2 separate regions of the Homo sapiens genome follow, and region 2 is linked to region 1. The links are contacts of gene promoters, found by promoter capture Hi-C in human tissues and cell types (Jung and others, 2019). All regions are on one chromosome and are shown on one strand. Each heading gives the region's core, a stretch centred on a gene start or on the middle of the fragment in contact. The rest is flanking DNA. Distances are from core to core; before and after follow the strand shown. Region 1 holds the start of DAAM2 (dishevelled associated activator of morphogenesis 2). Region 2 holds the start of KIF6 (kinesin family member 6).

Region 1 (6,497 bases), core at 1,958-4,457:
CAAGGTCTTTGGTTCAAACACTTGCTATAGTCCACAATAGTAAATCAGAGAAAGGTATATGTTATTTGCGGAGAGTCACATATTGATTAGATGACATATTCATGGGGCCTTCATTTATTCTTCAGAAAGTCTTTATGGAGTGCTATTGTGGTCCATGCTGTACTAGACTAGGATCTCTACCCCTGGAGAGTGAGCAAGTGACTTTTGTGAAGCCTGCTTCTTATCATGATAGGCTGGGCCTTGGAAGTATATAGTGAGCTTTGGAAGCCAGGTCAACCATAATGTGCTATTTGAGAATCTTTCATCAAGCAGGTACAATTTTCCAGATGAGTAGTGTGCTACAGAGGGCCTCACTGTATGTTCCGGGAACATTCCTAGAATATGCAGGTGAAGAAGGATGAAACCCCTTTCTTGGGAATCTTGAGAATAGGAGAGACTCCCACATTAGGACCCTGTGAGTGATAGGGCTGGGGGTAGGGAGTGAATCAGATGATCTTCGAGTGGGCCCTACTACTTCATGGACTCTTCAGGGCTTGCCAACCTCAAAAACAGCTCCTCAGCACTGACAGCCACGTATTTTATGAATTTCACTTGCTCCTCATCCCAATAGAACCCAATTAAGAATGCTTGGGGGCCAGGCGCAATGGCTCACACCTGTAATCCCAGCGCTTCGGCCTCTCGAGTTGAGAGAATTGCTTGAGACCAGGAATTTGAGATTAGCTTGGGAAACATAGCAAGACCACATCGCTACAAAAAAAAAAAAAAAAAAAAAAAAAAAAAAGGTTAGCAGGGCCTAGTGGCATGCACCTGTAGTCCCAGCTACTGGGAAGGCTGAGGTGGGAAAATCCCTTGAGCCCAGGAGTTCGAAGCTGTAGTGAGCTATCATCGTGCCACTGCACTCCAGCCTAGGTGACAGAGAGAGACCCTGCCTCCAAAACACTTGGGCAAGGATGGAGAGACTCCCCTCTCCCAGACCTAGAATGCTTGCTCCTCAGCCTCACTTCCCCTGTTTCTGTCCTCATGATGTCCCCAACCTGCCACCTCTGAGTCTCTGGCCCTATCTTTTTTTGTGTTTTTATTTATTTATTTATTTATTTATTTATTTATTTATTTATTTATTTTTTTGAGACGGAGTCTCGCTCTGTCGCCCAGGCTGGAGTGCAGTGGCGCAATCTCGGCTCACTGCAAGCTCCGCCTCCTAGGTTCACGCCATTCTCCTGCCTCAGCCTCCGAAGTAGCTGGGACTACAGGCGCCCACCACCACGCCTGGCTAATTTTTTGTATTTTTTAGTGGAGACGGGGTTTAACCGTGTTAGCCAGGATGGTCTCGATCTCCTGACCTCGTGGTCCGCCCGCCTCGGTCTCCCAAAGTGCTGGGAATACAGGCGTGAGCCACCGCGCCTGGCCAAATCTGATCTTCTCTTAAAGAGAGTTTGTGGAAGGCATCCTCTGTCTTCTGTATTACAATCTCACTGGTCAGAACTTGGTCTCATAGCAATTGTGAGCTACCAGGGAGTCTGGGATGGTGAATATTGTAGATTTCTAACTTCTTTAGTTGAGAAAGGCAAGGGAGAATGGGTTTGTCAATGGCTTCTGGAAACCTATTTGCAGGGTCTGCTGAAGAACAGAGCTCACCTTGCCAGTGGAGCCTTGATATGAGAGAGGGAATGGAAGGAGGTAAAAGTGGGGTATTATGCCAGGGAGAGCAATCCCACAGTGACCAAACAGCAGCTCCCTGCTGCAGGGCCCTCGGTGGCTTGGGTCAAAACAGCGTGGCCTCTACCGAGAGGCCCAGCCCTAAGACAGCTCCTTCTGGCAATCAGCTCTAACCAGCTGCTGCCAAAGAGGTAAACACATTCCAAGTCCTTGAGTCCCTGCTGCACTGTAACTGTGGTTAAAACACAACCCCGCCTCTACCAGTTTGGGCTAATGGAAAGTTCACTATAGTTGTGTTTTAATGATGATTTGCAATTATCCGTGCCCCCTCCCATTCATGGTGAGATGAATACCTAAACACTTATGTTGTCTAACCATATAAGTATTTTGCATCTCACGTGTATCATTTTAAGTTCATTTCATTCTCCAATCCTTGGGAACCATGAAGGATAACACATTACATTCTCTTTTTTTTTTTTTTTTCCTCTGGAAGATCATGCATTACATTCTCTTTTTTTCTCTGGAAGGGTGGCCCTTAAACCAAGCCATTTCCCTAAGCCCCTTTGGTGAGGTGGAGAAACAGACAACCACTAACACAGAACAACCACTGAACACCCAGAAAACTGTATACAGGTCATCACCCAGTGGGGGCACCATTTGCTTGCAGAGGGAGCTGGGGAAAATAGGAAACAGAGAAGATCAAATACTCCCCGTGAGGGTGTTGCCAATCCCAGAGAGGACAATTGCTCTTGACCAAAGCAATCTCTAGTTCAGTCAAGGAGACAGACCACAATCACATTTAAAAAAAAAAGAAAAAAAAAAACTAAAAGGAAATTTTAAAAGTATGAATAAGAGCTATTGTAAACTGCTCAAACTATGCATACAAGCAATGAAGTAAGATGAATTGACTGGCACTGAATTGGAAAAGCTATACAGAGGCAGGGAGTGTGGAACATAATTTAATAAAAATAAACTTAAAAAAATATATATACACTCCCAAAAAAGAAATGGAAAAGTTGTTAGGGCGTGGACCAGGACTCCTAATTAGCTGTTCTGTTGTGCCTGATTTCGCTCCTGTCTTGCCCAGCACCCCTTGGGACACACTGTCCAGTGCAGGGACACTTTGGGGAGGGACAGGGGATTCCTTGGCACCGGGACCTTCACCTCCGAGCCGGCCTCAGACCAGGCCATTTGCCCGTAGCCCAGAGGAGGAGCCGGGGAGAAACCCGCTGCCCAGGTGGCCACTTTTGCCTCTTTGACCCTTCCATGTTTCCAAAACAGAAGGGGCCCTGAGAACGCTCCCTGCCAAAGTGGGGAACAGCTACCCTCATTGTACGCCTCGCCCTGCCGGTGGCGCTCTCCCCCCGCCTGCGTTCGGTCTGAAAGTGTGAAAATTACAAATCCCAAGAAACTGCAATCAGAAGTCTACCTAGGGAAAATTCAGAGTAACCTTGCCATAAATATCCCGCTCCAAGACGCCTGACGTCAGAGCGGGGCGGGCGGACGGGCGCGAGGCCGGGCCTGGAGGGGCGGCAGCCGCGGCTTCCCGGGGATAGCGCGGAGCACGCAGCAGCGAGCGGAGCGCGGGCGGCGGCGCCGTACCTCGGGCTGCGGGAGCGCGGGCGCCCTGGGGTCCTCGGAGTAAGTGCGGCCGGCCCTGGCGCTCCCCGTCTTGGGGCCCGGGCCGCGGGGAGCCCTCTCCGCTGGGCTCCCACACTTCTCTCCCTCTGCTTTCTTTAGCATGCCCCGCGGGGCTTGGGGAGGCAGCAGCTCCGCAGGCTGGCGGTTTTGTTTCTCCAAAGTGTTTGCAGGAGCCGCCGACCCCGGAGTGGGCTCCCAGGGCCTGTGTGTGTGTGAGTTGTGTGTGTGTATGAGTGTGATTGCGTGTGTCTGTACTGGCACATCTGGACATAGGAAATGTCTTTGGAAAACTTTTTAAAAATGTTTTTTGCGGCTTTGAAACCTGACCCCTGGTTGTCACAAGTGGACAAACACAGAAGATACCCCGCAAAACTGACAACTTTTTGGTGGTGGCTTTTCCGGGTTCGGCTTGAACCTTCACTTGGCTGGGCTGAAGTCTTCACAAGCCCCCAGCTCCCACTTGCAGGCCTGGCCTCTGGCCAGTGGGCAGGGCAGCCGTAAGGTTCTTGTTCTCAGTGGCAGTGGGACCCTGGGCGGGGGAAGGAGCATCTCAGGAAAGGGGTCCCCGGACTCTGGGGCTCTCAGCACCTGCGGTCGCAAACCAACCTCATGCCCTGACTTTACCAGGCGTCGGGACTCTGACTTAACCGGGGAATGAGGGACTTGGTCTGGCGGCAGGTAATTTTGTGAAGAGGATGAGAAGGAAGAGGGGGAGGTGGTGGTGATGGCCAGGACGCTGTGGCCCTGTGTCCAGCCGTAGCTTGGGAGTGGGATGGTTGGTTCTGCCACATGGCCACGGTGAGGTACGTGCCAGGTTCTCCAGGAGTGCCGCGTGTGGTGCCCCAAACAAGATGCAAGCTCCTAACATAAAGAGACGTGTCTGAGCTGTGGGGTGGAGGAAGGGGGGCGGTGGGGGAGAGGGAGATTTTTATCAAAATTGAACACAGATTGCTGAGATCTGGGCTTGATTTAACTCTTCTCTCTCTGCCTCGGCCACTTCTCCACAGTTTTGGAGTGGATTTGGAACGTTTCTCGGAGGGTTAGAGGAAAATCACACCTCTCCGGAAAAGAGTCCCCATAGGTTTTCCCTTGATGCCCACGTGGGAATGAAAGCAGCTTCCCATCTTTAAAAAGTTCAAAGTCTTGTGTTTTCCCCCTTCTGAGTTTGGTGTTAGTTTCCTGAGTTTCTTTGCAAAGCCAGCTGAAGCGGGGGATGGATTTTCCCTAGGGCCTAGGGCGGAAAGTGTGCTCCACGGAGAGTAGGGGAAAAAAGCAGCAGTGAGGCTGTATCGATCCATCATCCCTGAGTAGCACAGTGCCAGGCACTGCCTGTCAATAGCTGGGTTCCACAAACGAGTGACCACAGACAGACTGAATTTTCAGCTTTGAGCTAGCCAGGTCTCTGGTTTTGTATTTTGCAGTAGAGCCAACCTACAATGTCTGGGTGGGAGGAAGATTACTGGACTCTCCCTCTGTCCTAGAAAAATGAGAAAATGAAGGGACAGGGAGGAAATCTGGATGTAAAAACAGACCCACAGGAAGTTAAGATTCAGGAAGGATTTTAGAAATTATATAAATTGAACCCCAGGGAAGCTCCATAAAAGATGGAGCAGGCAGCAATGTCAGAAACAGACTCATTTAACTTCAGGAGTACGTTGTCAACTGAAGTGTAATGAAGGAGGAGGAAATCATCCCATAGGCAATGTAAACAAGGGTGCATGTAAACAGGAGTGACTGGTCCCCATGAGATGCACATGCCTATGTGTTTTTACACATACATGACTGTGTGGTGATGGCCATGGCCTTAGACATGGGAGGATAAATGGTCTATTTCTTCATCTGTGCTGGGAACTCCATCTAACCCCCATTTCTTCCTTTATGCAAACAACTGTGCTATTATTGTCTTGCTCCCTGGTAGTTGCAAACTCTGGCTCCTAACTCCCAGCTGAGTTTTCAGAGCTTTTCCTCCAGCGCCTCGGATGCTGAGGGAATACTCGTGCCCCCATCAGGACAAAAAGAGGAGAGAACATTCTCCTGGGCATTAGAACTTAGAGAGTCAGGGGCTCAAGAAGGCGGAGGCTGTGCAGGCAAGACCAATAGGAAGGCCTGTAAATGATTTTGTTTTTGGTGAGCGTGGAGGAAGTTGAAATACTACTGCTTGCTGTGAGAACATGTTCTCTCCCCAGTCTTCTTTCCCGACTGTCTCCAAAGTTTTTGATGCAAAACAGATTAAACTCCCCATTACTAAAGAGCCTTGGATCCAGGTGTAAAGAATGAAGATAAAGGGTAAGTACAGGCAGTAGAGAAAGCATAGAGATAATGAAAGATGAGGCTTTCTTATTTGATTTTACTAGAGCCAATGGAAGTAACAAGTTTAAATGTTCTCATTCATTTCCATTATTTAAACATAGAAGACTACCCAGGGACAGAAGGGACCCCTCGGAACAGGATTCCCAGAAATACTCTTATCCCAGCATACAACTCCTCAGGGACAGGTGAGGGGCAAGAACTGGGTTTTCAACTCTTTCTACATGTGGGGTTTCTGGGAGTGCTGCATGTGGGATCAGTGGAGTCCTGATGCTTCTGGGCTTGTACTAGGAGACATTTCACTATGGCCGGGATGAATTCCCAGGCCATGGATGCCTAGGCTGACATTGAAGCCTTCTCATGGCTCATTCTATCAGTTCAATCTTCTGGCCAGCTCTTTGGTCATCTTTGAGATTAGATTAAGTAGATGGGATGCATTCCAAGACATCCTTGAAGGTCCAGAGGGCAAACACAGCTGGCAGAAAGAACAAGTTGAAGGATATCCTTGGCTTTGATAGCGGATGACCCTCTAGATCTCAACAGCCAGAGACTCTGTCAAGGATCCTGTGTCATTCAGCCCTAGACTTCAGAGGCAGCCCGACAACAATGGAAAGAGTGCAGATTTCTGATCAGCTGCCTGGAGAGAGAGAACTGTGACCTAAATACGAATTAGTAACCTGGGCTACATGACTTATTCCTTCTGAGCTTCAGCTTCCTCATCTGTAAAATAAGGATAGTATTTCCCTCCCCAGGTCATTATGAAAACATTTATGCACAAGAACTAAGAACAGAGCTCAGAATGTTATAAGACCCTTCATAAAGGGAGTGCTGTATTTTTATTTTTCAGTTTTTCAGCCATCACAAGCCAGTATTGCTTGGAAAGAACCTCTCCC
Region 2 (6,497 bases), core at 2,477-4,976, 67 kb before region 1:
CTTGTACATAAAATGAGGAAAACAGAATTACCTCCCTTACAAGATTGCTGTGGGGATCAAATGATGTAATGGAAATCACCATAAAATTGTAATGCACCATAAAAAAAAAAAGTCATTAGATTTAAAGGTTTTTTTTTTTTTTTTAAAGGCTTCTTGTCTTTTACCATGAAATAAAATTCCTTCTAACAGGCAATACTTCCTGTTTAAGACCCATTTAGATGCTTGGTTATGAGGAAAAAGTCATATTCCTAAGCAAGTAAAAGCCTACCTAAATCTCCAGAAAGTTTGAATATTTTCCTAAGTATATTTTTATTGAAACTTCTCATTTAAAATGTGAAGAATTCATGCAGAAAAGTCATTACATAAAATAAAGTATTTGTAGAAAGCAATGGCATCAGGTTCAAGGCTTTCTGGCTAGGTTTTCTCAAGAGACATTTAAAAATTATATCCTGTTGGGCACTACATTAAAAAAAAAAGTTTTATAGCCAGACAGGTGAGTGAAGGGGGTGTATAAGACATGAAACATACAAGAGTGAGGAGTTACATCCATTTTTAAAAAGTCTATATTTCTCTGCTCAGCAGACAGAAAAGAATATTAACTGCCATTAATGACCCTCCACTACTCTGATTAAGACACTCTTTGAGGCCTTAAGAAAAGTCCCTTAGAACCAGATCACTTGTTTAGTGTAATATTGGCTTTCTATCCTTATTCATAAAAATATTATTTGAGATAGTGAAGTTTTTTTTTTAAGAAGACAGAACAAGTGCAAGGATGATTATGAAAATGTTTTGAAATGTATAAAGCACTGTACAAATGGAAAGCATTACCACTGTTAAAACTATCAAAGATTCATTTTATATATCCTTTTTATTAATCTGTTATTACAATTTACTTTATGATGCCTTAAAGAATAAAAGTAATGCAGTAATGAAGCTATAAAATGAAGAGAAAGAAAAAAATTCCTTTGAGTCACTCTCAATTTAATACTACAAAAAGCATTTCTAGTCAGAGAAAGAACTCTACAATCTTTTGCGGACAAGAAGATATGGCATTAAACTGTGGAGTTTTTAAGGGCGAACAGGGATATACTAATTCAATATTTATTCATTCCCATTCTCTTTGTGTGTATGTGTGTGTGACACCTAAAAATATGACACCTAAAACTACTTCCTGGAGGATCAAACAATCCACTCTACAGACTCACCAAAGACATACAAAATGAGGTACATTAAAATATCCAAACACTGCATTTTAAGAGAAAAGAAAGTTCAGTATTAAATCCAAGACTCTCCATCCACTTCCCTGAGCCCCACCCCTACCCATCCTGTCTCTTGACCTTATCCCAGCCTCTGCTCTGACTGCTGAGCCCATGTAGATAAGCTCAACAGTTTAAGCTAAGAATCTGGGGGGAAATGTTACATACAATACACTTTTTACATATGATGCACTCTAAAAAGAAATGCATGTAAGTGATTATTAGAGGAGAGAAAATGGGAAGATACCCATGGTTCTTTCTACACCACTTTATTCCTGTTTTAAATACATAAATTATACGAGGCAAATGCTTAATCATGAGATGCTATGATATTCCACATAGACATATACCCAGTATATATATGGAACAGGAATACAACATTATTAATATGCCCACTCCATATACTCACAAATATGATCCAAATTGCCCTTGCCTAAATTGTCACTTTGAGAGGCAAAAAAGGTTTCCGAAAAGGGGATAGCTTTGAAATCAAAAATCCTTAATTAAAATTACAGCTCTGCTGTTCACAATAGCAAAGACATAGAACCAATCTAAATGCCCATCAGTGATAGACTGGTTAAAGAAAATGTGGTACATATATATACACCATGGAATACTATGCAGCCATAAAAAAGGATGAGTTCATGTCGTTTGCAGGGACATGGATGAAGCTGGAAACCATCATTCTCAGCAAACTAAAACAAGAACAGAAAGCCAAACACCACATGTTCTCACTCATAAGTGGGAGCTGAACAATGAGAACGCATGCACACAGGGAGGGGAACATCACACCCTGGGGCCTGTCGTGGGGTGGGAGGCTACGGGAGGGATAGCATTAGGAGAAATACCTAATGTAGATGACAGATTGGTGGGTGCAGCAAACCACCACGGCACGTGTATACCTACGTGAGAAACCTGTACGTTCTGCACATGCACCCCAGGACTTAAAGTATAATAACGAATAAAATAAATGTTCTAAAATTGAAAAAAAAAATTACAGCTATGCCACTCCCCAGCTGGGTGCCTTGGTCACATTATTTAACCTGAGACTCAGTTTCCTAATCTGTAAAATGCGGAAAATGACACCAACCTTGCAGGGTTCTTGTGAGAATGAGAGATAATGCAGATAAAGCACCTGTCAGGTGGCCATTTCTCAAGATACATAAGAATGACTATGCTCCCTTCTAGGCAGAAGAGAGGATGTTTTGAAATATTTAAGAAGCATAAAAAGTGCTGGGCGCGGTGGCTCACGCCTGTAATCCCAGCACTTTGGGAGGCCGAGGCGGGCGGATCACAAGATCAGGAGGAGATCGAGACCATCCTAGCTAACAGGGTGAAACCCGGTCTCTTCTAAAACCACAAAAAATTAACCGGGCGTGGTGGCGGGCACCTGTAGTCCCAGCTACTTGAGAGGTTGAGGCAGGAGAATGGCGTGAATCCAAGAGGCAGAGCTTGCAGTGAGCCGAGATCGCGCCACTGCACTTCAGTCTGGGTGGCAGAGCGAGACTCCGTCTCAAAAAAAAAAAAAAAAAAAAAAGGTGCATACAAAGTATCATTGCTCAGAGTCAGGGCAATGTCTTAACCTTCTTTATACCTTTCTGAATTTAGCACACTAGAGGAAGCACCTGGTAAATATTTAGTTAATTGTTTCTGAATGAAGTACACATGCGTATTCTTTGGGTCAGGATGCTTAAGCATCTACCTATATCTATTAATACAAGGAGTATATGTAAAGGTTCACGTTTATGTTGGAGAATAACAACAGTCAACTAATTACTGAGGCCCCACTGGGTGCAAAGTACTACATATGTGTATGCTTTGTGCATTTGTGTCTATCTATATTTGTATTATTTCAGAGGTACATAAACACGCATCTCTTGCTTGCACGTTTTGCCCGAGTGCCAAAATGTACCTTTGAGTGTATCTGCATGTGCGGTGCTGCGTGAGTTTCCCAGAAAGGTGCAATAAGTGCTTATGTGTAGTTGAAGCGCACACTATACAGGCATACTGAACATGCACTAGTCTGCCCCCGCGTGAACACGTGTGCCTGGGTGCAAAAAAAATGGCTCTCTGCCGGGTCTGCGCTGTGCCAGGTAGGAGTGGCCTGGCTGTCGGTCGCGTAGCTGACAGCAGTGCGCGGGGGTCTTCGCGGCTGCAGGGCTCCTCGGTCAGTGTGTGCGGGATTCCGGGCGGCCTCGGCGCCCACCAGCAAGCCCCTCACCTCCGCCCAGCCCCTTCGCGTGCCGCCGCCCGACCCCAGCCCAAGAGGCCCCGCCGCGCCGGCGCCCCGGAGGCTCCAGCCCGTACCCCTTGTTGGTGCTTCCGGACAGGGGGCTTCACCCTCGCGAATATCTGGATAGTCTGCTTCACCATCTCCTCCCTGGCTCTGCAATGACCCTTGACCTCTCTCAGGCCCGGGCTGCCAAAACTAACTCCCACCACCTCCGGCGACCCACAGTCTTAGCAACAGTAGCTAGGGACACTACCCAGTGAGCACCTTGGCAGCCAGGATCCCGCCTCCTCCCTCTAATTGGTCGCGACCGGAAGGAGGCCACTACGGGGCGGGGCTAGGGAGGGGAGGGCGGGGGTGGAGAGGAGAGCGCTGCGCATGCGCATGAGCGAGTGTCTGGGCTCTGGGTTTAGCGCCGGACCCGGCCTGGACCGTGTGGTTAAAGGGGAACAACCACCATGCCTTGCCCCGCCCCGCTCATTCACCCATTTTATTCTCCATGCCCTTGCCTTTAAAAAAAAATACAGCACTGGGCCGGGCGTGGTGGCTCATGCTTGTAATCCCAGCAGTTTTTGGGAAGCCGAGGTGGTAGGATCGCTTAGAGCCCAGGAATTTGAGACCAGCCTGGGCAGCATAGTGAGACTCCGTCTCTACAAAAAATACAAAAGTTAGCCAAGCGTGGTGGCGCGCCTGTATCCCAGCTACTCGGGAGGTTGAGGCAGGAGGATCGCTTGAGCCCGGGAGGTCGAAGCTGTAGTGAGCCAAGATTGCAGAACTGCTCCAGCCCACTTGGAGATCACAGTCTGAAGAAGGAGACAGATTTTTTTTTTCCTTCACAAGGTCTCTCAAGTGACAAGGAGACAGATTTTCAACAGGAAATCAAAACCAAGGAATACAAACTATGCCATGATGGAATTAGAAGTGGGGCTAGCTCTGTTTTGGAAAAGGATAAAACTGGATGAAGGGGACTGTTTCCCACACAATGGTCACGGCAAGAAAGGATGAGCTCTTCAAACACTGTTAGCACATGAAAAGATAGTCAACATTATTATCCACGTGGGAAATATAAGTTAAAACCACAATGAGGCATCACTATTCATCTATCAGAATGGCTTAAAAAAAAAAAAAAAAAAAAAAAGTGGCAACACCAGATGCTAGCAAAGATGTGGAGAAACTGAATCAGTTGCACTTTACTGGTAGGAATGTATAATGTAAAACATACACTGTATAAAGGTACAGCCACTCTGGAAAATAGTTTGACAGTTTCTTACAAAACTAAAGGTGCAACTACTCTAAGACACAGCAATTGCACTCTTGGGCATTTATCTCAGATGAATGAAAACGTGTGTTCACACAAAAACCTGCGCATGTGTGTTTATAGTTTTAGCACCTTTATTTGTAATAGCCCCAAACTGGAAAAAAAACCCAGATGTTCTTCAGCTGATAGTTTAAAATAACTGGAATACCATTCAGCAATTAAGAAGGAAGGAAGTGTTGATACACGTAACAAATTGGTTGAATTTTCGGGGAATTATGTTTCATGAAAGAAGCCAGACTCGAAAGCTAACTACCGTATGGTTCTATTACTATTGCCAGGGAGGTGTGCAGGGTATGGTTATAAAAGAAATCCTTGTGATGGGCTGTTCTGTATCTTGACTGTGATGGTGATCACAGAAATCTACACATGTGATAGCATTGCATAGAACAAATTACACACATGTTCAAATAAGCACATGTAAAACTGGCAAAAGTCACATAAAATTGAATAAGATTGATGGATTGTATCAATGTCAATTCCCTGATTTTTATATTGTACTATAGTTATGCAAAACATTACCACTGGGGAAAACTGGGAGATGGGTATACGAGTTCTCTCTGTATTATTTTTTACAAAACAAAAAGTTTATTAAAGACACCCTTTTTTCTTTCTTTCTTTTTTGAGACAAGGTCTTGCTCTGTACCCCAGGCTGGAGTGCAGTGGCATGAACACGGCTCACTGCAGCCTCAACCTCCTGGGCTCAAGCGATTCTCCTGCCTCAGCCCCACAAGTAGCTGGGCTTATAGACATGTGCCATCACACTCAGCTAATTTTTGTATTTTTTGCAGAGACAGGATTTCATCATCTTGCCCAGGCTGGTCTTGAACTCCTGAGGTCAAGCAATCCACCCACCTCAGCCTCCCAAAGTGCAGGGATTACAGCCATGAACCACTGCACCCAGCTGAAAGACACTTAAGAAAACAAAAAGACTAACTACAGATTGGGAGAAAACTTTTGCAAAACACGTATCTTGATAAAGGACTTGCATCCAGAATATATACAAACTGTTAAAACCTAATAATAGAAAAACAAACAATTCATTTGTTTAAGGTGAAGGGAGGGTGCAAAGATTTGAACAAACGCTTCACCAAAGAGGATCTATGGATGGCAAATAAGCACATGAAAAATATGCTCAATATCATTAATCATTAATGAAATGAAATTAAAACCACAATGAGATACCACTACACATCTCTTAGAATGGCGAAAAATAAGAAAATAAAACTGACAAAACTAAGTGCCGACATGGATGCAGAGCATCTAGAACTCTCAAACATCACTGATGAGAAAACAAGATGGACCAGCCACTTTGTAAAATAGTTTTGTAATTTCTTATAAAGTTATACACATACTTACCATATGACACAACAATCCCACTCTTAGTTATTAACCCAAATGAAATGAAAACTATGTTCACATAGAAACCTAAACATGAATGTGTATAGTGGCTTTATTCACAATTGCCAAAAACTGGAAACAAAGTAAATGTTCTTCAGCTGGTAAATAGATAAACAAACTGATATATCTATGCCGTAAAAAGGAATGAATTACAGATGCCTACAACAACATGGTTAAGTCTCACATTTATTATGATGAGTGAAAGATACCAGACTCACTGCGTACTTTATAATTCCATATATAATTGAATTATATATAATATATATCTAATTATATATATCATATATAATATGTT

Evidence for each region. Contacts are between HindIII fragments. The study calls those that stand out against the background at their distance.
Region 2: a contact is called between the fragment with the promoter of KIF6 here and the fragment with the promoter of DAAM2 in region 1, in 1 of the 25 tissues and cell types used here (adrenal gland).

The regions. Positions count from the first base shown.
Region 1 is chr6:39,789,169-39,795,665 of GRCh38, forward strand. It overlaps DAAM2 (dishevelled associated activator of morphogenesis 2), which reads left to right and starts at 3,208. Exons shown (of 25, transcript NM_001201427.2): 1 at 3,208-3,297. The HindIII fragment of the contact is 10,904 bases long and covers 1-6,497 here.
Region 2 is chr6:39,721,682-39,728,178 of GRCh38, forward strand. It overlaps KIF6 (kinesin family member 6), which reads right to left and starts at 3,727. Exons shown (of 23, transcript NM_145027.6): 1 at 3,564-3,727. The coding sequence starts at 3,629. RefSeq lists silencers at 3,448-3,517, 3,730-4,061, 3,768-3,967. The HindIII fragment of the contact is 25,522 bases long and covers 1-6,497 here.